Linked DNA regions of Homo sapiens: regions 2, 3, 4 and 5 are each linked to region 1. Evidence: promoter capture Hi-C in human tissues and cell types (Jung and others, 2019). All regions are on one chromosome and are shown on one strand. Each heading gives the region's core, a stretch centred on a gene start or on the middle of the fragment in contact. The rest is flanking DNA. Distances are from core to core; before and after follow the strand shown. Region 1 holds the start of JARID2 (jumonji and AT-rich interaction domain containing 2). Region 2 overlaps LOC101928331 (a long non-coding RNA gene). Region 3 overlaps LOC101928331 (a long non-coding RNA gene). Region 4 overlaps LOC101928354 (a long non-coding RNA gene). Region 5 has its middle 69 kb from the start of LINC01108.

Region 1 (4,298 bases), core at 1,511-4,010:
CCAAGATGGTAGGGGAAGGAAGTTCATTAGGAGTAGGTTACTTTCACAACAGGAAAATCTTTCAACCACTAAGAAGGCCAACCTTTTTTCTCTTTCAGGGAAAACAACACTAATATTATTCAAATCTTTTGGAAATGAGCAAATTCCTTCCTTTCCCCTCTGCCCTGAGGCCTCAACTTTACACAATAGTTTTTCACACCAGGTGACCTGGAGCTGGTAGCCTGGCAGGGGAGTTCGCAAGCCCAGGACTGAGAAGTCCAGGCCCCAGGGCTAGTTAGGGGAACAGAAAAGAAACTCACCTTTGTTCATTAATATTTGCCTAGGGAATGAGGTATCTGCGTTAAACTTACAGAAAGCTGGTTAAAATCTTAACAACGTGGAGACGTGGAGATTCCCAGTATGCCAGTCCTAATGATCAGAAAGTTTTTAGAAAACACCTTGGGTGGCCCTACTGTAGTCTGCCCCATTGGATCCTTCCCAGGAAATGGCACCAGCGTACAAGTTTTGCAGTATTCAGGGCACAAAAGATCATTTATTTTTCCAATTGTGAAGTGAACATTAGATAAAATTATTTCATTTCAGATTTTTTGAAAAGGTAAAAATAATAAGGAAAATACCCTCTCGAAAAGGCTTTTTATTTCGTTTACTGAAAGCTTCCAATAACGTGCCTAGTTTTAAACTAGGTTACTGTTATTTATCACATAATCATCCCCACAGGTTTGATCACCACTAATTTGCAGATGCGGAAACTGACAAGCTCAGAGAGGCTCTCGGTTGCCTTTTGGGAAGTGGCCAAGGCGCGATTTGAATCCAGGTCTCTTACCTCCAGTTTCTGAGACCTTTCTAGACACCAAGGTTATCTCTTCAAATACTGCTGCAAGTAAACAGCTGTGTGAGTATCTAGACTTTTGAAGTTAGCAGACTCTAGGGAATAGGTAGAATAAAATATATGGGTATGTGTTCGCGGGAGCGCTTCTGCCACGTTTTATTCCGAGGCTAGCCTGAGAGATCATGGAAAACATTGCTTCTCCAAAACCACAGCGAAAAACAAGGAAATTAACAAGGCAGAATCGCGATGCGAGACTTGACAAAGTTGTTAATAAGGCGAAGGCCCAAAGCGCTATGCCAGGGCCTGCTACTTCATTTGTTTCAGCGATTAAACCAGCACGACAGGGGGCTGGAGGCAGGTAAAAAGCAGGCTCTTGCGTGGCCCGGACAGTTGATATTCCTGGCACTCGGTGTTCGAGATGTTTCCTTACAATTGCGTGTCTGTGCGGCTCGGTCTCCATATTCCACTCATTTTTGTCTCAACATTTTGTGGTATTTTATCACAAAATACGCCCGGCAAAGCAAAGATCCCGTTCAGTCTCTTTAAACACGGCTATCTTTTCTCAGGAGGCAGCCGCCGGGGCTTCACTCCTGGGCCACCAGCGACGTCCTCCAAGCGGGTCGAGCGGAGGCGCGTTCGCGACCCAGGGGCAGCGTGCCGAGCCCGGGCGTGGGGGGGCGTGGCCTTTCCACTCGGCGACCCCCGGCCACCGCCCACCCCGCGCGTGGGGGCGTGCGCGACTGCGGGGCGCGGAGAGGGGTGACCTCGGACTACCCTAGGCGCCCGCAGCACGCTCTGTACACAGACGCGAGGCGCTGTCCTGAGGTGACACCGGCTGCACGGCACAAGCAGCAGGCGCCGCCGATCAACTAGTTCGCACCGAGGATTCCTCTTGGTGCGTGGCCCAGTTTTCCTTAGGACGGGCTCCAACCCCTCCCTGACACCGCCCCCCTCACCGCCACGCTCCGAGGCCTTCCCCGGGGAAGCCTCGCGTCCCTCCCCCGCGGCTCCGGGCCGCACGCGCGCGATTCCTCGATTCCACAGGCGGTTCGCGCCGCGGGTGGGGGCGGGGCGCGCGGGGAGGGGGCTGGCGGCCGCCAGGGGAGGGGGGCCGGGGCCCGGGGGGCGGAGGAGGGCCGGCGTGGGGAGTTCCTCGCTCGCGGACCACACGCTCCGCGGGCCAATCCCGAGCCAGCCTCTAGCAGTGTCGCACGCGGGACACGTCCAAGCGTTTGTTGGCACGGCCAGTGAGGGGGAGGGGGCGAGGAGGAGGGAGGGGAGTTGAGTGACAGGCTTTGCGGGGCAGGCTGGGAATTGTAGTTCCCAGCTTCCGTGGCCATAGCCATTTTGTAGTCGGGGGACTACAACTTCCAGAAGATCAAGGGGACCATTCTAAGGTGCCCCGGGAATAGGCGGCTCTCCCCGGGGCCGGGCGTCCTGGGGCACTCCTACCCAGCAGCCCGGCTGCAGGTAGACGCGAAGGCAGTGGCGGGGGCTGGCGTGGGGCGGCCGTGGGGTGAGCGGCAGGCAGGGGAAAGGGGGTGAGGTGGAGCGACGGAGCGTGCCATGCATTGAGCTAGGGAGCCTCTCTCAATTCCACGCCTGGGCTCGGCGTGGGAGCGACGCCCGAGGGCTTGCCTGGGAGGGGTTCGTCGAGGTCGCTCGGGTGTCTGGTTGGCCAGGCTGCGGGGGTGCCCTGGACTGGGCCAGGGGCGGTCGGCACCAGGCTAAGCGGGCGCCTGGCGGCTGAGCGGTGGGAGTTTTCGGCTGGCGCCCGGCGGGGAATTATCCGAGGAGCCCTAACTTGTATAAAAGCAGAGTCCATTTAAAGTTGGGCTGGATAGCCTCTCTCTCATTGGTTAGGGGGCTTGGAAAAAAGAGACTCGGCGAGCCCTCGCTGTGGTGCTGCCGCCGCCGCCGCCGCCGCCGCTGGAGTTGACTCTTCTGCTCGCACTGCTGCTGCAGCACAAACGTGACTTCCAACATTTTTTATTTATCTTTCCCTTTTCTTTTCCAAGATGTAACTACGGATCAGACACTAAGGACCTTCACGTTTCGCTGATGTAGTTTTTGGAGGAAAAAGGGGGGGGAGTGAAGGGCGTCGGTTTTTTTTTGTGTGTGTGTGTATGTGTTTCGGGGGAAATTTTCCATTATGAGTGTTTTACTAAAGTGAATTTTTTTTTGTTTGCTTCGTTCGTCTTTGGCTCTTTTTTTTTCCTTCCCAATTTCGGATTTATTTCAAGGCGAATCTGGCTTTGGGGGAAGAGGAAGAAAAGTCGGATTACAAGATCAACCACCACCAACAACAATAAAAACCACCAGGATATTTTTTTGCAAATTTCTGACGGCTTTAAATTCATGAAGCAATTGTCCCCTTTTGCAATCAGCATTTGGATCTCAGAATGAGCAAGGAAAGACCCAAGAGGAATATCATTCAGAAGAAATACGTAAGTGCTCCTAACAACACATCCTTTGACTTGCAGTTTTAAGCAATGGCTGTGAATGTCAAGTTTATAGATAATTCTGCCTCTGAAGGGTTTTAAACACAGCGTCCGATAAGGCTGTTTCTTTTTTTTCTGAAAGAGGGCTTTTCAAGCAAAGTGGTGTCTGCCTAGTTTGGTTGAAAAAACAGACTGGTGTAGAGATACCTCAAGTGAATAAATTGACCTCGAATGACACAACCATAATCTACTTTTAGATGAAAGGCAAGGGATTTTGGTGGAGCTTGAGGTGGGGGGTGGCTGCGGTAATGTAACTAAACTGCATTCTCAAGCGGATTTGGCCCCGTATTGCACTTTGCATGCAAATGAGCCTGTGTTATTATTATTAATGTTATTTGGAAAAATCGTGTAACGCATGTGTGTTGGAAGCCCTTTAAGTTGCGATCGAGGGTCCGATTATGGCGATCTTCTCTTTGCACTGGCACATCAAATTTAATGTCTGTGGTCGTTTTGGCTTATCTGGTTTGCAACATAAACCAGTTGGGAATCATGTTACAGCGAATGCATTTGTTGGGATTGACTTTAATAATGAGGCTGGTTTTGTTTAAAAAATTCATGGTTTCCAGTTGTAGGGGAAAAGGACACACACTATGGCTAATGTTTTTAAGTGTGTACGTGAATGCATATGTAAGTAACTACAAATAATTTCTCCCTGTTAACTGGGCTTCTGAAATTGGGTGATTATTCCTAGATTTAAATGGCTTGGAATAGTTAAATTTGTTTTGTGCATAGTACAGCTACGTTTTGATTGGCATGGGGAGTGTTTTTGTTTTGTGTGTGGTGGCTTTTTTTTTTTTTTAAGTTTGAGGGGAGGGAGGAAAGGGGGACCGAGGGATTAACCAAATATGCACTCGAGTGATCTGTGATTAGCTGCATGCTTTAAATTAAATAACTCTTTTTTTTTTTCAAAAAAGGCCAAATGAACATACCTTAGGAATAATGCAACGTAAGAGGAAAGTTTATTTAAG
Region 2 (4,726 bases), core at 139-2,638, 770 kb before region 1:
TCCCTCCCACCGTGTCCACAAGGGACTCTTCCTCTACCCTAGCCCCCAACACTGGGCTCAGTCACTGGAATTCATCACTCATGGGTGGGCTCCCGGTGGGATGGTTAGCTCCTCTGCTTGCACCTGAGTAATTAGAAGGGTCGTTTCATATTCTTCTGTGTTCTCGGAGGTGCTGCCCACTTGTGCATTTGGGCAGGGAGGGCTCTGCTCCCTCAGTGGTGGTTGGAGTGAAGGAAGGATGAACCATAGACCAGAGGGTAGTTCCTTCGGCCGCAGGCAGCACTCACAGCTCACTTAATTTGCACAAAGCATACAGAGAGAACCTGACCTCTTGCTCAAGAAAGAAAGAAAGAAAATACAGCTGGAGCTGGGACTGGGAGGGAGAGAAAGGGCTCTCTTCTGGACAGGCAGCTGCTTGTGTTGCGTTGGAGTCCTCTGTCTGTACCTCCATCTGCCCTGGTGAGATAACATTTCACGATGAGAGCTGAGGAGGTGGCTCCCTCCCGCAGAGGTGCATGACTTGGCTGGAGTGTTTTGCTTCGCTGGCACACGTCTTCTCTTTTCAAGTTAGCTGAGCTCACACATCCCCCTTGCTTGTTTGCAAAGTCCATATGGGAGATGAAGGCGAGACAGTTTGACTAAGGGCAGAAGGAGGGAGTGAAGAGGAGGAAATGTGGGAGCGGGGATGCCTGGCCAGACCGAGCCTTCCTCAAATTAGGTCACTGTTTATATAAAAAGTTAAAATTAAACCGAGGACTATTTTCCAAGGTTTCTGACACTGGACATGGCTCTGTGCAGCATCCCTGGAATGCAGTGCAATAAACATCACAGAGCACATGACGTCACACTGAGGGAGAAGCCAGGGAATGTCACTAGCAATGAATCCCAGGCTCTACACAATTATGCTGGAGACAGACAACATCCTTGTTCTCTCTGACTCTTTCCTCTGAGTTTTCCTGCTGGCTTTTTCTGTTCTTCTAATTCTCACGTTTTTATCCACGAGGCAACCATGTCCCCTGAGAGTTACCACACACAGGGCTCTATGTTTCTGTTTGGCCAATAGCATAAAGCTCTTCAACAAAGCTTTGACCTTCCTTCTCCTTCCGACAAATTGTTACGGCCTTACCTTCTCACAGTGATTCCTCAACATGAAACAGCAAGGTAGGTTTCATTATCACCAATCTGCAGATGGAAAAAGCAGGCTCAGCGAGGTTCAAGGACTTCCTTAAAATCACAGAGCAAGACAGCGGCTGAGAGGCACTCAAAGCAAGGTGGTCTATGAGCTTCCCAGTATACCACACCACCCTTCTGACTGCCCTTGTCCTGGCACACCTCCGTAGGTTTGCCATGTTTAAGTGGCAATTAGAAGGGATGTTCCCTGAGGGAAGGGACTCCGGCATATGCCTTAATGCACCTGTGGTGTCCAGCACAGTGCTTGCTACATCATAGACATTCAAAAGTCCGTGTTCAGTGAAGATCCTTATATATGCCCGTTAGCCATGTGTTTGACTTTTTCTCTTGTAGTCTGGAAGGTCTTTGGAGGCCTGGGTTATGATTTTTCCTTAATATGGGGCCAAGTCAATAACCTCAACCTCTGCCTCCAAGAGATTTAAATGGAAATGAAACATTGAGTATAAGATGAACCCACCCGATCCACCAAGCAGTATTCTTTATATGGCTTCCCTAGTGTCAAAATACATCGCTTCAGGCCTGGCCATTGTTGACTCCATTGTTGACATCCTGTCTCCTTCTGGTAGTCAGATTCCTCTTCCATGTTTGAATTCTGTATCTATGTTTTTAAATAAGCCAGGAAACACTCACCCCGCCAGCTCCAAATTAGTTCTTCTTTTCATGCCTTTTCTGTTTCCTGGCTCCATGCCACAGTCTCCCTCCATTAGAATTAAGAAATAGCGCTCAGAGAGTCATATGTCTTCACCTAGTTAGCACCTTTCCTTCGGGACAGCTTCTCTGAGGGTGGCTCCCACATATGCCAGGCTTTTCTCCTAGCAATTCCTAGGTTGTCAGTGTCAGGGGCAGGGAGGAGCATGTGTGAGGATGGGTGTGGGTAGGGGAGGAGAGGGGAAGGTGCAGAACACTGTTACACGAGGCACTCTGTCGTGGTGATTGAAGGAAGCAGTTTCTTGGCCATGTGTCCAGGATGTGCTTTAAGGGAGCCAAGACAGATCATTCATATCTTATGAAGAGTTGTATTTGGAATCTTTAAATAAATAGGAAATGCTTGTCTCTCCTTATCTAACTCTCCATTTGTCTTTTTTAAATCCTAAGTTTCATAAAGATACCTGGAATTAAATCATCCCAAGTTAGGTTTCCATAAAAGTCCTTAGCCAGCAAAATCTTTCTCTCTGGGGCCACCTTTTTCTGGGAAGTTCCCTCAGCTCTGCCCGTCCTCCTACCCTCCGCTGTACTCCCCACAGCCGTCCTTCACAACACTTAGCACACTGTGCTGGGGTGAGATGAGCTCCCTCGTCTCTCTCCCTTTCCCTGTCTTCTCTATTCACACGGAGCCTGGCTCATAACAGAAGGCCAACAAAAGACTGTTGAAGGAATTAATAAATGAGTAAAATTTTCTTGACATTTAGTTTGAATTTTTATTCTCAGATTTCAACATAAGACTATCCTACATGTATCACAAAAGCAGAAATTCCCTGAGGGGAATCTCATATGTGATTATTGAATTATTTTCTAGATTTTAATTTATTCTGCTTTTGCATTCTTTTTTTCAGCTGTCTATTACTTGGTAACAATCTCCTCCCATTATTTAAGAGTTGGTGGTTGGCAGGGCTCAGGTGGCAGTTCTTCAGCATGAAAGTGCAATAGCTCAGGTCACTCATCAGGTGCATTCACCTGGAAGTTCACTGAGACTTACACATCCTTGACGGTCTCTTATTCTGTGGGGGTCTTTCTCTATGTGGTTGCTCATCATTCAGTGATCTAGCCCGAACTTCTTCATAGAATGGCAGGTGGCTTCCAAGAGGAAGCATTTCAAGAGGACAAGCCCCGATGTGCAAGTGCTTATCCAGCTTCTGTTCGGTCACATTTGCTGCTGTTCCACTGGCCAAAGCAAGCCCCATGGCCAAGTCCTCTACCAATGCAGAAGGGACCGTGCGAGGGCATGTCATAGTCTACCACTGTTACAGAACCCAGCTGGGTCTGTTTGACCATGCAGGGCAGAAACCCAAACACTGAAGTGTTGAATTTTTTAGAAAGAAAGTGTTATTGCAGGGCAGCCAAACAAGAAGATAGGAGATGGGTTCAAATCTATCTGCTCATCTCAGCTCACAAGTAGTATATTTAAGGTCAGCAATTTTAGGAGGAGGATTTGGGGGCTGGTTAAGGACTTGTAGAAAGGAAAGGGAAGTTAGGAAATTCTCATTCAAGAAATAAACAAGTGAATAGGAACAGCTCCGGTCTACAGCTCCCAGCGTGAGCGACGCAGAAGACGGATGATTTCTGCATTTCCTTCTGAGGTACTGGGTTCATCTCACTAGGGAGTGCCAGACAGTGGGCGCAGGTCAGTGGGTGCAGCGCACCGTGCTCGAGCCGAAGCAGGGCGAGGCATTGCCTCACTCGGGAAGCGCAAGGGGTCAGGGAATTCCCTATCCTAGTCAAAGAAAGGGGCGACAAACGGCACCTGGAAAATCGGGTCACTCCCACCCGAATACTGCGCTTTTCCGACAGGCTTAAAAAACTGCGCACCAGGAGATTATATCCCACACCTGGCTTGGAGGGTCCTATGCCCACGGAGTCTCGCTGATTGCTAGCACAGCAGTCTGAGATCAAACTGCAAGGTGGCAGCCAGGCTGGGGGAGGGGCGCCCGCCATTGCCCAGGCTTGCTTAGGTAAACAAAGCAGCCGGGAAGCTGGAACTGGGTGGAGCCCACCACAGCTCAAGGAGGCCTGCCTGCCTCTGTAGGCTCCACCTCTGGGGGCAGGGCACAGACAAAAAGAGAGCAGTAACCTCTGCAGACTTAAATGTCCCTGTCTGACAGCTTTGAAGAGAGCAGTGGTTCTCCCAGCATGCAGCTGGAGATCTGAGAATGGGCAGACTGCCTCCTCAAGTGGGTCCCTGACCCCTGACCTCTGAGCAGCCTAACTGGGAGGCACCCCCCAGGAGGGGCAGACTGACACTTCACACAGCCGGGTACTCCTCTGAGACAAAACTTCCAGAATAACGATCAGACAGCAGCATTTGCGGTTCACAAAAAAACCGCTGTTCTGCAAACACCGCTGCTGATACCCAGGCAAACAGGGTCTGGAGTGGACCTCTAGCAAACTCCAACAGACCTGCAGCTGAGGGTCCTGTCTGTTATAAGGAAAACTAACAAACAGAAAGGACATCCACACCAAAAACCCATCTGTACATCACCAACATCAAAGACCAAAAGTAGATAAAACCACAAAGATGGGGGAAAAACAGAGCAGAAAAACTGGAAACTCTAAAAAGCAGAGCACCTCTCCTCCTCCAAAGGAACGCAGTTCCTCACCAGCAATGGAACAAAGCTGGATGGAGAATGACTTTGACGAATTGAGAGAAGAAGGTTTCAGACGATCAAACTACGAGCTACAGGAGGAAATTCAAACCAAAGGCAAGGAAGTTAAAAACTTTGAAAAAAATTTAGACGAATGTATAACTAGAATAACCAATACAGAGAAGTGCTTAAAGGAGCTGATGGAGCTGAAGGCCAAGGCTCGAGAACTACGTGAA
Region 3 (4,624 bases), core at 806-3,305, 750 kb before region 1:
TAACGTGCTGAGATTACAGGTGTGTCTGGCTTCTATTTCTATTGTCTATGTTATTATTGTTCTCATAAATATAATGTGTCTTTCTCTGGCTGCTTTTAAGATTTTACCTTTGTCTTTGATTTTTGCAGTTTTACCATGCTATTCTAGTATTTTTGTTTGGTATTGATCCTGTTTTGAAAAACCATTTTGAAAAATTCTCAATCAGAATGCCTTTGAATATTTTCCTGATTATGCACACATTAAGCTACATGAAGTTTTTTCACAGCTCACTTATACTTTTATCATTTGTTTGAGTCTATTTTTTCTGTGCTTCATTTAGGATATTTTCTCTTACTATACATCTTCAAGTTCACTAATTTTTTCTTCTACTATGTCTAATCTGCCATCAATCCCATTTATTATTTAATCTCAGACAGTAAAGTTTTTCTCCAGAAGTTTCATTTGGATCTTTTAAAATATTTTCCATATCTCTACTTCACTATCTGAACATATAGAATAAAGTTCTAACAACTGGTTTGTTCTTGTCTGCTAGTTCTAACTAACCTCTGTGCTGGTTCTGGATTGCCTTCAATTCACTGATTATTCTCCTCACTATAGGTCACGGTTCTTTGAATGCTTGATATCTTTATTTGGATGCCAAACATTGTGGATTTTTACCTTGTTGAGCTCTGAATATTTTTGTTTAAATATTCTTGTATAACTATTCTTGAGCTTTGTTCTGGGATGTATTGGAAATGATTTGATTCTTTCAGCTGTAACTTTTATGATTTGTTAGGCAGGTCCATAACTGCTTAATCTGAGGCCAATTATTCTCCATTACTAAGGCACAACATTGCTAAGTATTCTACCCAAATGCCTCATGAATTGAGTTTTCCAGTCTGGTTGGTGGGAATAGTCACTATTCTCAGCTTTGTGTATGTGTCAGGCACTATTCTCTCATTCTTCCAGATTTTTTTTCTTGCCCCATTCTTGGGTAGCTTCCTCACATGCATGTGTTGGTCTGTACTCTGTTGTGCACACAGGGGGAACCTTTGCAGACATCCAGGGTTTTCCCTTTGTATGCCGTCCCATGACCTCTGGCCATGGTGATCTCCTACATCCTCAGCCCCATCTCCTCTGCTCTACCTGGGTTTCCCCTCCCTGCACTGCAGCCTGGAAGTTTTCTGAAGGCAGTAAGCTGGAGTACTCCTAGGACTCCCCTTCATGCTCTGTCTGAATCACTGCCCTTTGTTTCCTGCTGAGAAGTCTTGAAAATCATTTTTTCATATATTTTGTATGTTTTTCTATTGTTGTTTCGGAAAGGAGGATAAATTCACGCCCTTTTATCTCACCTTGGGCAGAAGCAGAAGTTGGTGCATTGTATTTTAAAAATTTAGTTGACTGGGGAACTCTTTTTCATGGTGCACATTTTGGGAAATTTTAGGTTAAAGTTAATCTGACAGGCACTGGACACTCGATATTTTTTGAACTAAGAAATGGAATTTACCTATTAAAATTCAAATCCCTTTGAGAGGTAAACCCCTTAAATCATTAACATCCATTAGCACTGATTAGTTTATCTGAAGATTGGCTTTCCATTTATTTCTTGTCTAGCAGAGAAGAAAAAAATGGAAAAAATAAAATTACAGAGTCAGAAAATTAGGTTGTTAGGAGCGGATAAAGATAAGGGCCAAAGCTTAATAGTACCAAAGAATCTTTTTTTTAATTGATTTTTTTTTTTTTTTTTTTTTTTTGGAGCATCTTCTTTCTACAGGTGAGGTGAGGTGAATCTTGCAGAGGGTAAGTGTCTTACCTGAGGTCATGCAGCTTGGAATGGAAGAGCTGGGATTACAGCCTGGTTCTAAACTAGGCAACACATTTAAATGTGTTATATAGGAAATGATCAATAAATACTAATTTTTCTTTCCTTCTCAATCTAGTGCTGGAGCAGAGGTACTGAATGAGGAAGTGGAGTCTTGGGATACCTTTGGAGGGATCCAGTTAATGGACTGGCTGCCATAATTGGTCTGAGACACTGGTGCAAGCATGGTAGGTATGAGGGACTAAAAGGAAGGAAACAGCCCACTAGAGGACAATAATCCGAGTACAGAGATAGTATGGGAGCAAGTGACACATATGGTAAATTAAAAAGTCACTGCCCCTGTAATCCCAGTACTTTAGGAGGCCGAGGCGGGTGGATCACGAGGTCAGGAGATCAAGACCATCCTGGCTAACACAGTGAAACCTGGTCTCTACTAAAAATGCAAAAAATTACCCTTGGCATGGTGGCATACACCTGTAGTCCCAGCTACTCGGGAGGCTGAGGCAGGAAAATTGCTTGAACCTGGGAGGTGGAGGTTGCAGTGAGCCGAGATCACGCCACTGCACTCCAGCCTGGGTGACAGAGTAAGACTGTCAAAAAAAAAAAGTCACTGCCAACAACTGAAAATACCTCCAGGTATTTCCTTCCTTCCTTCCTTCCTTCCTTCCTTCCTTCCTTCCTTCCTTCCTTCCTTCCTTCCTTCTTTCCTTTCTTCCTTCCTTCCTCCCTTCCTTCCCACTTCCATAGTGGGAGCTCGGAGCCACATGTAATTTCATTTTTTTTTTTTTAAATAATGAACTGCCATGTTTCCTACTTCCAAATTCTAGAGTGCAATTCGTACCTGCTACACTCTGATGAGAGGGTGTAAGCTTTATTTGTAGAGCTGGAGTTAGTTTGGGCATTGCTATCATGATGATAGGCATTTTTAAGAGGCAGAGAATCAGGCAGGAAAATAGCACAAAGTAAATGCAGGGAACAGTTACAAAATAAATAGAAAACTTGGGCTCTTAACTTCAAGAAGCTTAATCTAAGCAGAGACATCAGGAAAACACACATCAAAGGACTTAGTAAAATGCCCCAAGTCAAATCACTGCTGTGCACAACACATACACTTGTAGGAATGATAGCTATTATTATCATAATTTGTTGAGTATCTACTATATGCAGGCATGTAGGCACTTTTTTTAAATTTAATTTTATTTATTTTTTAGAGACAGGATCTTGCTCTGTTGCCCAGGCTAGAGTGCAGTGGTATGATCATAGCTCACTGCAGCCTTGACCTAGCAGACTCAAGCGATCCTCCTGCCTCAGCCTCCAGAGGAGCTAGGACTACAGGCACACACCACCATGCCTGGCTAATTTATTTTTATTTTTTGGAGAGATGAGGTCTCCCTATGTTGCACAGTCTGGTCTCAAACTCCTGGGCTCATGTGATCCTCCCACCTTGGCCTTACAAAGCGCTGGAATTACAGGCGTAAGCCACCACACCTGGCCCACTTAGGAACTTTCTATATGCTATAGCATTTAATGTTCACTTTTAATGAGGAAATTAGGACCAGAGAGGTGAAGCAACTTGCCCACAATCACACAGCTAGCAAATGACAGAACTAGGTCTCAAGGTCAGGTCTGTCGTTTCCATCACCTTTGCTCGCATCACCACCCTTCTAAAGACAAACAGAGTAGTGGATCCTTAGATGCCAAGAGATAAACTTGGGATCAACACAGCTGGGAGGACCCAGCAAGAATTGGCAAAGTAGAGGGCATATTTTATAATTTAAGAAGCAAAATGCTGTCACATGTCAGCAGAGTCAAGGGGGAAAAAAGTGCATAAAACTAAAAAAATTAAGAATGATAAAGAAAAACCAAGTAGGTAAGGATGAGGGTGTGTTGACCCTTGTTTCAACTCCACTGGTTTCTTCCCCACAAAATCATTTAGGGAATAGAGAGACAATAACAGGAGGGCAGAGGCACTTAATCAGAGATTTTACAAACCACTAAATCAAAAGAGACTGTGAAATTCCCGCCCGGGGAAGCTAACAGTGAGATTAAATGGATTAGTCTACTGTACAGGAATCCGGGGAATGCAGGCAGCATGTGCTTTTGTTGTGGATTGCTCAGCAGCAACACGATAGTTTTACATCTCCCAGAAACATATGGGCATGTGCCCTTCTGCAAACCAGCAAGCAAGAGCAGCGCCTGGCGAGCTGCTTCCCCTACACCACACGTCTCGTTTCAGGAGGTGGCAGATAGTGACATTTTATGGAGAGCTTGCGCAGGGAACGTGTGGGAAATGAAAAGGCAACCCAGCTAATCGCACCCATAATTTCTAAGCTCAGAGCTGGGTTCACTACGGTTGTGGGGAATAAAAAAAGAACTGGAATTAGGAGTTCTGGTATTAATCCTTGCAAAGAAAGGGAGAAGAGGCTGGGTGCAGTGGCTCACGCCTGTAATGCCAGCACTTTGGGAGGCCTAGGCGGGCGGATCTCTTGAGGCCAGGAGTTCGAGACCAGCCTGGTCAACATGGTGAAACCCCTTCTCTACAAAAAAAAAAAAACATTACAAAAATTCGCCGGGCATGGTGATGCGCACCTGTAGTCCCAGCTACTCGGGAGGCTGAGGCAGGAGAATCACTTGAGCACGGGAGGCGGAAGTTACAGTGAGCCAAGATCGTGCCTCCATGCTCTGCTTGAGTGACAAAGCGAGACTCATGCCCAAACCAAAAAAAAAGTGGGCTGGCTGGGAGCGGGGGAGAAGAAGGAGGCCTCTGACAGTGTGTCTCCCAAACTTTGGAGGCAACTGCTACCTGAAGATAGCCGAGAAGAC
Region 4 (4,567 bases), core at 1,164-3,663, 630 kb before region 1:
CCTGAGACTTCCAGAGAGTCAGGATCTGGCTTTTAATAAAATTCCCAGATGATTCATATGCACATTAAAATTTCAGAGGCATGGGTCAATACCCCCTCCACATAATTGTCCTGGAGATGAGAAATTAGGCCAGTTATGACCAAGAGCATCTAATTCCTAGACTTTCACATTAGCAGTCATGGAAGCCTGTAGATTCTCACAGGGACTGGATTTGAACTTGAAAATGTGTCTTCCCCAGTTGAGGGCAGCCTTCTTGTAAGCAGAAAGGGAAAGCCTGAATAGAAATTAAATCCACACAGGGAAGAGAGAGAGACTGACTAAATCCTCAATTATATCATTCAGCCTCTGTATTCAATTGTGCCTGAAGCCTCATCTGTAATGAGACAGTTCAGATACCTGAGACCTGTAGCTCCTGTTTTTTAATTAAGAAAATACAAACTTGGCTTTCTGTCTCTTGCAACCAAAAGAATCCTGTCAGGGCCCAACTCCCAGAAGAATTTATGTCCTGACCATCCACAAGGGCAGGCAATTTCTAACATTCTAAAAGCAGGTCTAAGCCAGTTTTTGAACTTGTTCTTTCAAAACATCTCCTAGGTTATGCTTTTTAAATATGCACCACCTCAGTGGGAGAAAAAAATCCACAGGCCAAAGGGTACCAAATTGCTCAAAGGTTTCCTTCCTGCTTTTAATATCTTAGATGTGACCCTTGCTTCCCCTTCTTCTCTTAGAGATGAAAGAGTTCATGGAAATGCCAGGCACGCTGCTGTCATTTGGAAATGACAGCCAGCCAAGAGAAGGTTAATGCTCTCATCAAAAATGCCCATCTTCCAAGTTGGTTAAATGGGTCTTTCTGGTTCGCCTGACTGCTTGCTCCTTTCCCAGATAGCTCAGCATCTCAATGAAGTGCTCTTGCAATTTAGCTTTGCCCAAGTGCAACGAATGTCCAGGGTTTCCTACGGGTCCCAGGTTTAACAAAACTCAGCCACGAATCTGCCCAGAACGTGCCAAAGCACACGGATTAGCCCATGGCCATTGGAAGGACAATCTTCCAGGGACTGTTTTCTACTTCTGTAGGAACAAGAAGAAAGGGACACGACAGTGGCTTCAAGTAGAATTTGTTCCAAAAAATGAAGGTCCCCACTGCTTGCTTCCCCTCTTTTGACTTAGCAATCTTGCCATTGTTTCTCCAAGAGCAGCCCACAGGCCATGTGTCTCAGAATTACCTGGGGTGGTATTACAACTGTGGGTCCCTTAGCCCCATTACTACCTCTCCCGACTGCCCAAGCCCCACGTTAATTACTTTACTGGAGTTGGAATTAATGTGTTTAATAAAGGTCCTTCTGAACTGGAAATTCAATGACTCTGTCAAGAAAGGAGGATAACACCTTCTCTGAGAGGCAAGTGTTAAAAATACATGGTTAACAAGATGAGAAAGAAGCTTGCCAGGTGAGAAGAGGGGAGAGTAAACTTGACTCAACTACACAGATCTCTTGCTTCAGTTAGCTAATGGCGCCAGCCTCTCAGTGAATGAGACACAGAACCAGGCTATTTTGGGGAATGACTGGGGAGTGACTGTGGAAGTGGGGAAGAAGCAAAAAGTAACTGCAAAAGGAAAAGGGAGGTACTGTGGCAACTCTTGAGGTCAGCTTCTCACCCCGCCAAAGTTCTCAGAAGAGCTCAGCTCTGAGAAACAGGCTGAGTGGACAGATTGGGAAAACGTGCATTTATCTCCCTAAGAACTCAGTGCCAGAGTATTCTACATGAGGCAGGCAGGTGTGGCTATGCAGGTATCCCTTAGTGTCCCAATAGCAGCCCAGTGAGAACCAGAGGGACGCATTCCGTCATTCTTTAGCAAATCTGAAAAGAAGAATGTATTCATTTTCTATTACGGTTGTAACAAATTACCATAAAGTCAGTGACTTCAAACAACAGAACTTTATTCTCCAGCAGTTCTTGGAGCTGGAAGTCTGTAAGGAATCTTATGAGGCTAAAATCAACATGTCGATAGGGCTGAATCCTTCTGGAGGCTCCAGGGGAACATCCATTCCTGCCTCTTCAAGCTTCCAGTGGCTGCCAGCATTGCTTGGCTTGTGGCCGCATCACTGTAATGTCTGCTACCATCATCCAATTGACTTCTCCTCTTCTGTAGTCAAATGGCTCTGTGCCTCCCTATTATAAGTATACTTGTGGTTACTTTTAGGGCCCACCCAGATAATCCAGGATAATGCTCCCCTTTCAGAGTTCTTGATGTAATCATATCTTCAAAATTCATTTTGCTATACAAGGTAACGTTTGCAGGTTCCAAGGGTTCACATGCAAATATCTTTGGGTGCCATTACTCAGCCCTCCACATCCAGGTTTGGGGGATGGGATGCCTGCTGAATGGACTTGTTGGGGGTGGCGCTAGTATAGCATAAGCAATTCTTAGGAAGCTTTTCCAGTCTGCAAGAGCTTGCCCCTCTGCCATCTATGGAAGAGCCCATTCAGGCAGCTGAACTGGCCCCATTTCATCTCATAGTCTAGAATCTTTATAAGCCTCGGAATCAAATGCACGAAGGTGACAGTGTTTGCAGCTTAACTCCTAGGAGTGGAGTCAGGAAGGAACACCCCACCTCCATTCGTTCATGCTGTCCATATTAAAATTTCTTTTGTTCCAGACACACGTGGCATGGGACGTGGGTTAAAAGGGGAAACGAGGTTGCTAGCCTACTTCACGAATCAGTGAAGAACGCTGCCAAAGTTAAAGCCGTTGACTCAGAGTTTCTCCCACTGTTGCTTGTCTTCTGAAGTGGAGCTTAATTTGACAGCAATTCTAGGAAGGGGTAAAGAAAAAAATCTGCAAGTTTTCAATGGATGCTCAGAGATGGATCTTTCTTTCTATGTGCATGTGCATGAAGGAGATAGCTTAAGACAGTCTGACTTTGTGGTCAGAGTAGGTATTTAATTATGGGGTTTCCTGTATTTTATGTATGCCTGCAAGAAGAATTCTTTGTAAATCAATGACAGTAGCCATATGAAAAAATTAGTGATTCTTTCAACTGAATTCCCACAAGGTAAAAGAGTCTAGTCTAAACACATTTTCTGAAGTTCTGACATCATTTTTTGACTCTACATCATGTTGAAAACTTAAATGGCTATTAGGACAGTTCAGCCCTTGCTGCCTCACCATAAGCCAAAATATGAGATGACACATTTTAAGGAGTCTCCTAGGATGCAGTTCCCTAAGTCCCAACATTTTCTGTTTCACATCTGGCTCTGGAATGCATTGGTTCCAGTACTTCACCCTAGAGGATCTTTCTGCTAAATATCATAGGTAACAGTGAGCACTGATGATCTCGTTACTCCTTTCTCTCTTCTGTCTAACCCAGAATCCCCTGCAAGGGATTTTTTTTCCCCCAGCACATTCTCTCCGTCTCCCAAAAAGCTAGACCTTACTTCAGCCTGTCTTCTATTTCAGATCTTTCTCCCTTAGCAAAAACTTTTGGGCCTGGGGTATTTACTTACACAATCAAATAGCCTTATTTGGTTAGTACCAGAATCCCACACTGTAGGATTTCTCGGTAGATTTTTTTTTTCCTTGGAATCAGCAGCTTTTAGAATTAAACTATTTGAACAAAGTTAGAATAGGAAAAGCTGAGAGGTGGCATAATCCCTTAGTGGTGTTGACAAAGAAAAAATAGATATTCTTGGTTGAAGAGGAACAATAGATGTTTAGGAAGACTAGCTTCTTGCTAGTCAGATGAACCATCCTGCAATGTATAATTGCCTAGGAAAACAACCTGAGGGGAAATGAATTGGAGAGACCAACTCTACCCCTCCAAACTCCTTGACCTTAACCATGTAATCTCTTCAGAATGGCCCCAGCAGTCCAAAAGGCAAATGGCATGAGCACTTTTCAAATCTATATGCGCATTTTACCTGCCAACAGAGCTATTAGAATTTAATAGGCTCATATCGATGCTCAAGTGTTTTGCAACACCTATTACAAGGGGTGTTTTCAAAACTAACTTTTCCCCAACCAAAAGCAAGGAAAAGCAACCCATAAGAGAAACAGGAAATGAGCTGCACAGGTTTGACTTAAGTGATGTAGGATGGAAGCTCTGAATTGTTGCTGGCGTCATTTAATGGAATTCAGTCTCCGAAAGTCTATTGCCCCGCACAAAGAAAAGCCTGTTCAGGCCTCCTCTGGGCACTATTAAGTCTAAACCTGGATTATGGGGGACACGGATGGAGACACATGCCCTGGTCTCCCAATTTATAGTGACTCCTGGCACCTGGAGGCACCAGCCTTCAACTTCACTCACAGCGTGATCCTGAAGCCAACAATTAATGTTCACACCAACAAGGGAGTTGAGGCTTAGGAAACTGCAACTACTTGCCCAAAGTAAATGGCAAAGTTGGGATTTGAGCACAGGCTGTCTGCCTCCTTTCCTTTGCGAAGGTCTAAAGATAAGTTGGACTGTGCGATCACTGAGGTGCCTGCTGGCTCTGTTTCTCTATGATGCTTACGGTTTAAGAAGTGCTGCTTAATTTTGGTTTAGTTACAATTTCTCCCTCTAGCATTTTT
Region 5 (4,591 bases), core at 2,029-4,528, 890 kb before region 1:
TGGAGGCAGCATGGTTTCTAGGGTCCGGTGGGTGCATTGCAGCCTGAGTTTGCATCTTCCCTAAGCATGCGCATTTAACAGTGGGCTTCTGCCTGCTAGTAGCTACACAGATATAACTCTTCTGACAGGCTTTCCCTGTGGACTCGCTTGCTGCTGCAAACTGTTCCCTCTGCTTTGATTTTAAATTGCTTATTTGAACCCATGTTCGCAAATAGGGAAATAGTTCAAGCAGTTGCAGAAGATGGCACTTGGGGGTGTGGGTGGGATGAAGTTGTGGTGGGGTTGGTGCCTCAAGTATTACCCTGGTCACTGGGAAAGGAGTACCAAGCTGCTCAGAGGTTTGCCCCAGTGGGCCTGCCTTCCAAGCAGGGCTCCAGCACTGTAGCCTTCCCCCTGAGCCTCTCCTGGCCTGGGTCCCTACTGGAGACACGTGGCTTCAGGGCCTTGCTTCTAGACTCACACTGGGCTGAAAGGACAGAGCCATGGCTGTCCCTCTGGGACTAGAGGGCTGGTCCTTGACTCCACCAACTCTCAGTTTTCCTGATTGTATGGATTTTCAGGGACCTGAGCTGATGGAGCACCCAAAACCTGAAAAAAAAATTGAAAAGAAGCAAAAGGAAGGGAGAAATGGTGGAGACTGGAGACCACCTCCTGTTAGGTTTAAGGGCAAATGTGCTAGATTTGAATTGATGTGGGGAGGTATTCACAGTTTGCCGGAATATAATGTAAGATGAAGCTACTTCTCTGCATGCACTTAAAACCCAACAGGACCCTGTTTACACAATATCTCCTTTCTTTTTTGTCTCAGTTATATTTATTGAGCTCCTAGCCTATGCCGGGTACAGTGCCAAGCAATTAATAAATATTATCATGTAATCTGCATGAAATTCCATGAAATAGACATTTTATTCCATTTTACATTTGAGAAAAACAAAATTCAAAAAAGACAAGTAACTACTTGTTCTGAGTCACTGGGTAGGTAGGTGGTGAAGCCAGGATAGGAAACTCACTCTTCCTGACTACCTAGACCCTGAGCTTTCTACTTAACGCTATATCAGCCACCCTGTGCCCCACTTCCTTGCTCTCTTTCTTTGAAAGTTACCAAAAGGTCATGATCATTGCATTGTTTAAACTAACAAGATTTGAAAGTGTGCACTCAAAATTGGTTCAGTCAAGAGTCACTAAATTCTTGCTGTTATGTCAGGCATTGTGCTAGCGTGGAGACATGGTGAGCCACACAGAAAACTAGAGAGTGAGCCCCCCTTCCCCATTGCATGCATTTCCTCTTCTGTTAGGGCTGCCCCCTGAGGAACATAACCTGGACAAGTGCAGGCCGAGAAGATTAAACCTAAACTTCTTTCCTCTACCATCAGAATAGTAATGGGCCTTTTAGGAAAATATGTGATATCATTACAGATGAAATACAGAATTCTCCAGTGGCCAGAGTGCCAGAAAACCTGGGTAGTTGCACTAACTTTGCCACTAAATAAGTGGAATGACTCCCTGGGCCTATTTCCCCATCTGTGCAACCAGAGGTTTAGGCCGTATCATGTCTAGGTCCTTCTCATCTCCAGCACTTCATCAGTGCATCTGAGTTCCTTATTTCAATCCTGTTTCTAGACAAATGAATCCTGAGACCCATTTTGAAAGTTTAAGGTGTTGACTTGTGTTTCTCATCCTAGGCCCTAGGTTCTCCCAATGATATACTACTTAATCTATTGTGCTTGTTTCTCTGCCCCGATTCATTTGTCATTTGCAGACACTTTACCTTTGTCATTATTAGTAATATTCAATTCTGTAAGAGACATGCCCACATCCAAAATCTAGAGGTATACTTAATTACAAACTATATGCTTCCCTTGGAAAACAATAAACAAATCAAGGAACTGCAAGTTGAATCCTTCTTTCAATGTAGTAGGCAGCTTGTATTTTTATAAAGAGAGAATAAAAAAATGGATGTGACATATTTCTGTTTGGTAAATCTGTATTTTTATACATTCAGTTTACTTTAGCATGAGCCGCAGACAGTTTTTCAAAACCTACTCCAGTTGGTATAGTTTGTTTAAGATAGGGGCCAGGCCCAAAAGTTTTATTTTGTTTTGTTTTGTTTTCCTAGAAACTTGAAGAAAGGCATTTCTCTCTTCTTGGTGATTTACTGACTACATGTCCATACTCACTCTGTGCCAAGTATATAAATTAGACCATTTCTAATTCTTAAACAATCCTTCAGGAACAGCTATTGTTGCACCTATTTTATGGATGAGGAAATAGGAGCTTAGGGAAGGTACAACAGGCAGACATGGTCCTTTGGATGGAAAGCCGCAGATGTGAGATTCAATCTGAGTTCAGTCTGACTTCAAATAGTTACACTTTCTCCACCACAAACACTGCATGGAAGGGAGAAAAAAGATGGAATGATATCCAGATGGGTTAAAGCATGCCAGGGATACACAAGGAGAAAGTGGTTTCTGAAAGGCTTTCTCCACGAAACATGGAGGAAGAGTAGGCTAACACCAGCTCACATCATGATGCCTTTCTATGAATTAGAAAATGATACCTCTTCCTGGTAAGTGCAGCCTAACATGCAAACAGCTTGATGAGTGCAGAAGGGGCTGATTCTACCACCCCTCACCCAGCCACACCCTGACCTAGGGAACAAATTGTGCACAGCTACCCTATGGCTGGAGGAAGAGAGGCACAAGGACCTGAATGTGTGTGCAGACCAGAAGAGGATTGCATTATTTATTATTAGTAGCATTTATGATCTTCCAGTGTTTATACTTCTCATTCTCTTTTCTTTTGCAAATAGTGTAATGGGCAGGGGAAACTATTCCTACTGTCAAAGAGGTTTAACTCTATTTCTGGAGCCAAGTTCGGTTAGAGAGACTAACCGCACTTCCCAGGGCTGGCCTGGCTGAGAGCCAGTGCAGAAGTAATGCATCATTCTTATTGTGACTAACTTGTCCCAAAGAAAGTTCAAGTTGACTTATCTTAACAGTATTCACGTCTAATAACTTGGGGCCAATCTGATTTGCACCTTTGACTGGCTGCCGATTCTGTTTCTTCACCTCCACTGCTTTTGCCTCTTCTAGGTCTCTGTTTAAATTAATTAATCTGTGATATTGGACTTTGGTTAATAATAATAATATAAAGATAAAGATGAAGGAGGAGGAAGAGAAGAAGGAAACAAAATCATTAGGACTAAAATTATATAGCTCCATTACAAATGGGGGGATGAAAGAAGAGAGTAGGGAGTGCTAGGAAAGAGAAAGGTATTTTCTTTTTTTAATTTTATTTATTTTTTATTATTATACTTTAAATTCTAGGGTACATGTGCACAACGTGAAGGTTTGATACATAGGTAAACATGTGCCATGTTGGTTTGCTGCACCCATCAACTCATCATTTACATTAGGTATTTCTCCTAATGCTACCCCTCCCCCAGCCCCCCAGCCCCTGACAGGCCCCAGTGTGTGATGTTCCTTGCACTGTGTCCAGGTGATCTCATTGTTCAATTCCCATCTATGAGTGAGAACATGTGGTGTTTGGTTTTCTGTCCTTGTGATAGTTCACTGAGAATGATGGTTTCCAGCTTCATCCAAGTCCCTGCAAAGGACATGAACTCATCCTTTTTTATGGCTGCATAGTATTCCATGGTATATATATGCCACATTTTCTTAATCCAGTCTATCATTGATGGACATTTGGGTTGGTTCCAAGTCTTTGCTATTGTGAATAGTGCTGCAATAAACATACATGTGCATGTGTCTTTATAGTAGCATGATTTATAATCCTTTGGGTATATACCCAGTAATGGGATTGCTGGGTCAAATGGTATTTCTAGTTCCAGATCCTTGAGGAATCGCCACACTGACTTCCACATGGTTGAACTAGTTTAGAGTCCCACCAACAGTGTAAAAGTGTTCCTATTTCTCCACATCCTCTCCAGCATCTGTTGTTGCCTGACTTTTTAATGATTGCCATTCTAACTGGCGTGAGATGGTATCTCATTGTGGTTTTGATTTGCATTTCTCTGATGGCCAGTGATGATGAGCATTTTTTCATGTGTCTGTTGGCTGCATAGATGTCTTCTCTTGAGAAGTGCCTGTTCATATCCTTTGCCCACATTTTGATGGGGTTTTTTTTTTTCTTGTAAATTTGTTTGAGTTCTTTGTAGATTCTGGATATTAGCCCTTTGTCAGATGGGTAGATTGCAAAAATTTTCTCCCATTCTGTAGGTTGCCTGTTCACTCTGATGGTAGTTTCTTTTGCGTGCAGAAGCTCTTTAGTTTAATTAGATCCCATTTGTCTATTTTGGCTTTTGTTGCCATTGCTTTTGGTGTTTTAGACATGAAGTCCTTGCCCATGCCTATGTCCTGAATGGTATTGCCTAGGTTTTCTTCTAGGGTTTTTATGGTTTTAGGTCTAACAGTTAAGTCTTTAATCCATCTTGAATTAATTTTTGCATAAGGTGTAAGGAAGGGATCCAGTTTCGGCTTTCTACATATGGCTAGCCAGTTTTCCCAGCACCATTTATTAAATAGGGAATCCTTTCCCCATTTCTTGTTTTTGTCAGATTTGTCAAAGACCA

What was found. Contacts are between HindIII fragments. The study calls those that stand out against the background at their distance.
Region 2: a fragment that was not itself captured here is called in contact with the fragment with the promoter of JARID2 in region 1 in 2 of the 25 tissues and cell types used here (IMR-90 fibroblasts and hippocampus).
Region 3: a fragment that was not itself captured here is called in contact with the fragment with the promoter of JARID2 in region 1 in 1 of the 25 tissues and cell types used here (aorta).
Region 4: a fragment that was not itself captured here is called in contact with the fragment with the promoter of JARID2 in region 1 in 1 of the 25 tissues and cell types used here (mesenchymal stem cells).
Region 5: a contact is called between a fragment that was not itself captured here and the fragment with the promoter of JARID2 in region 1, in 1 of the 25 tissues and cell types used here (heart left ventricle).

What each region holds. Positions count from the first base shown.
Region 1 is chr6:15,243,309-15,247,606 of GRCh38, forward strand. It overlaps JARID2 (jumonji and AT-rich interaction domain containing 2), which reads left to right and starts at 2,761. Exons shown (of 18, transcript NM_004973.4): 1 at 2,761-3,276. The coding sequence starts at 3,232. It overlaps JARID2-DT (JARID2 divergent transcript), which reads right to left and starts at 2,066. Exons shown (of 1, transcript NR_187237.1): 1 at 615-2,066. RefSeq lists enhancers at 876-1,389, 2,579-2,628, 2,739-2,838 and silencers at 1,389-1,698, 1,709-1,968. The HindIII fragment of the contact is 9,534 bases long and covers 1-4,298 here.
Region 2 is chr6:14,476,582-14,481,307 of GRCh38, forward strand. The region is part of intron 1 of LOC101928331 (a long non-coding RNA gene); the gene reads left to right. Among named protein-coding and RNA genes, the nearest start is that of LINC01108, 190 kb to the left of the region's middle. The HindIII fragment of the contact is 3,597 bases long and covers 1-3,187 here.
Region 3 is chr6:14,496,138-14,500,761 of GRCh38, forward strand. It overlaps LOC101928331 (a long non-coding RNA gene), which reads left to right. Exons shown (of 3, transcript XR_001743994.3): 2 at 1,920-2,028. Among named protein-coding and RNA genes, the nearest start is that of LINC01108, 210 kb to the left of the region's middle. The HindIII fragment of the contact is 4,076 bases long and covers 18-4,093 here.
Region 4 is chr6:14,614,121-14,618,687 of GRCh38, forward strand. The region is part of intron 2 of LOC101928354 (a long non-coding RNA gene); the gene reads right to left. Among named protein-coding and RNA genes, the nearest start is that of LINC01108, 330 kb to the left of the region's middle. The HindIII fragment of the contact is 3,840 bases long and covers 494-4,333 here.
Region 5 is chr6:14,352,447-14,357,037 of GRCh38, forward strand. No RefSeq gene overlaps it. Among named protein-coding and RNA genes, the nearest start is that of LINC01108, 69 kb to the left of the region's middle. The HindIII fragment of the contact is 3,624 bases long and covers 1,467-4,591 here.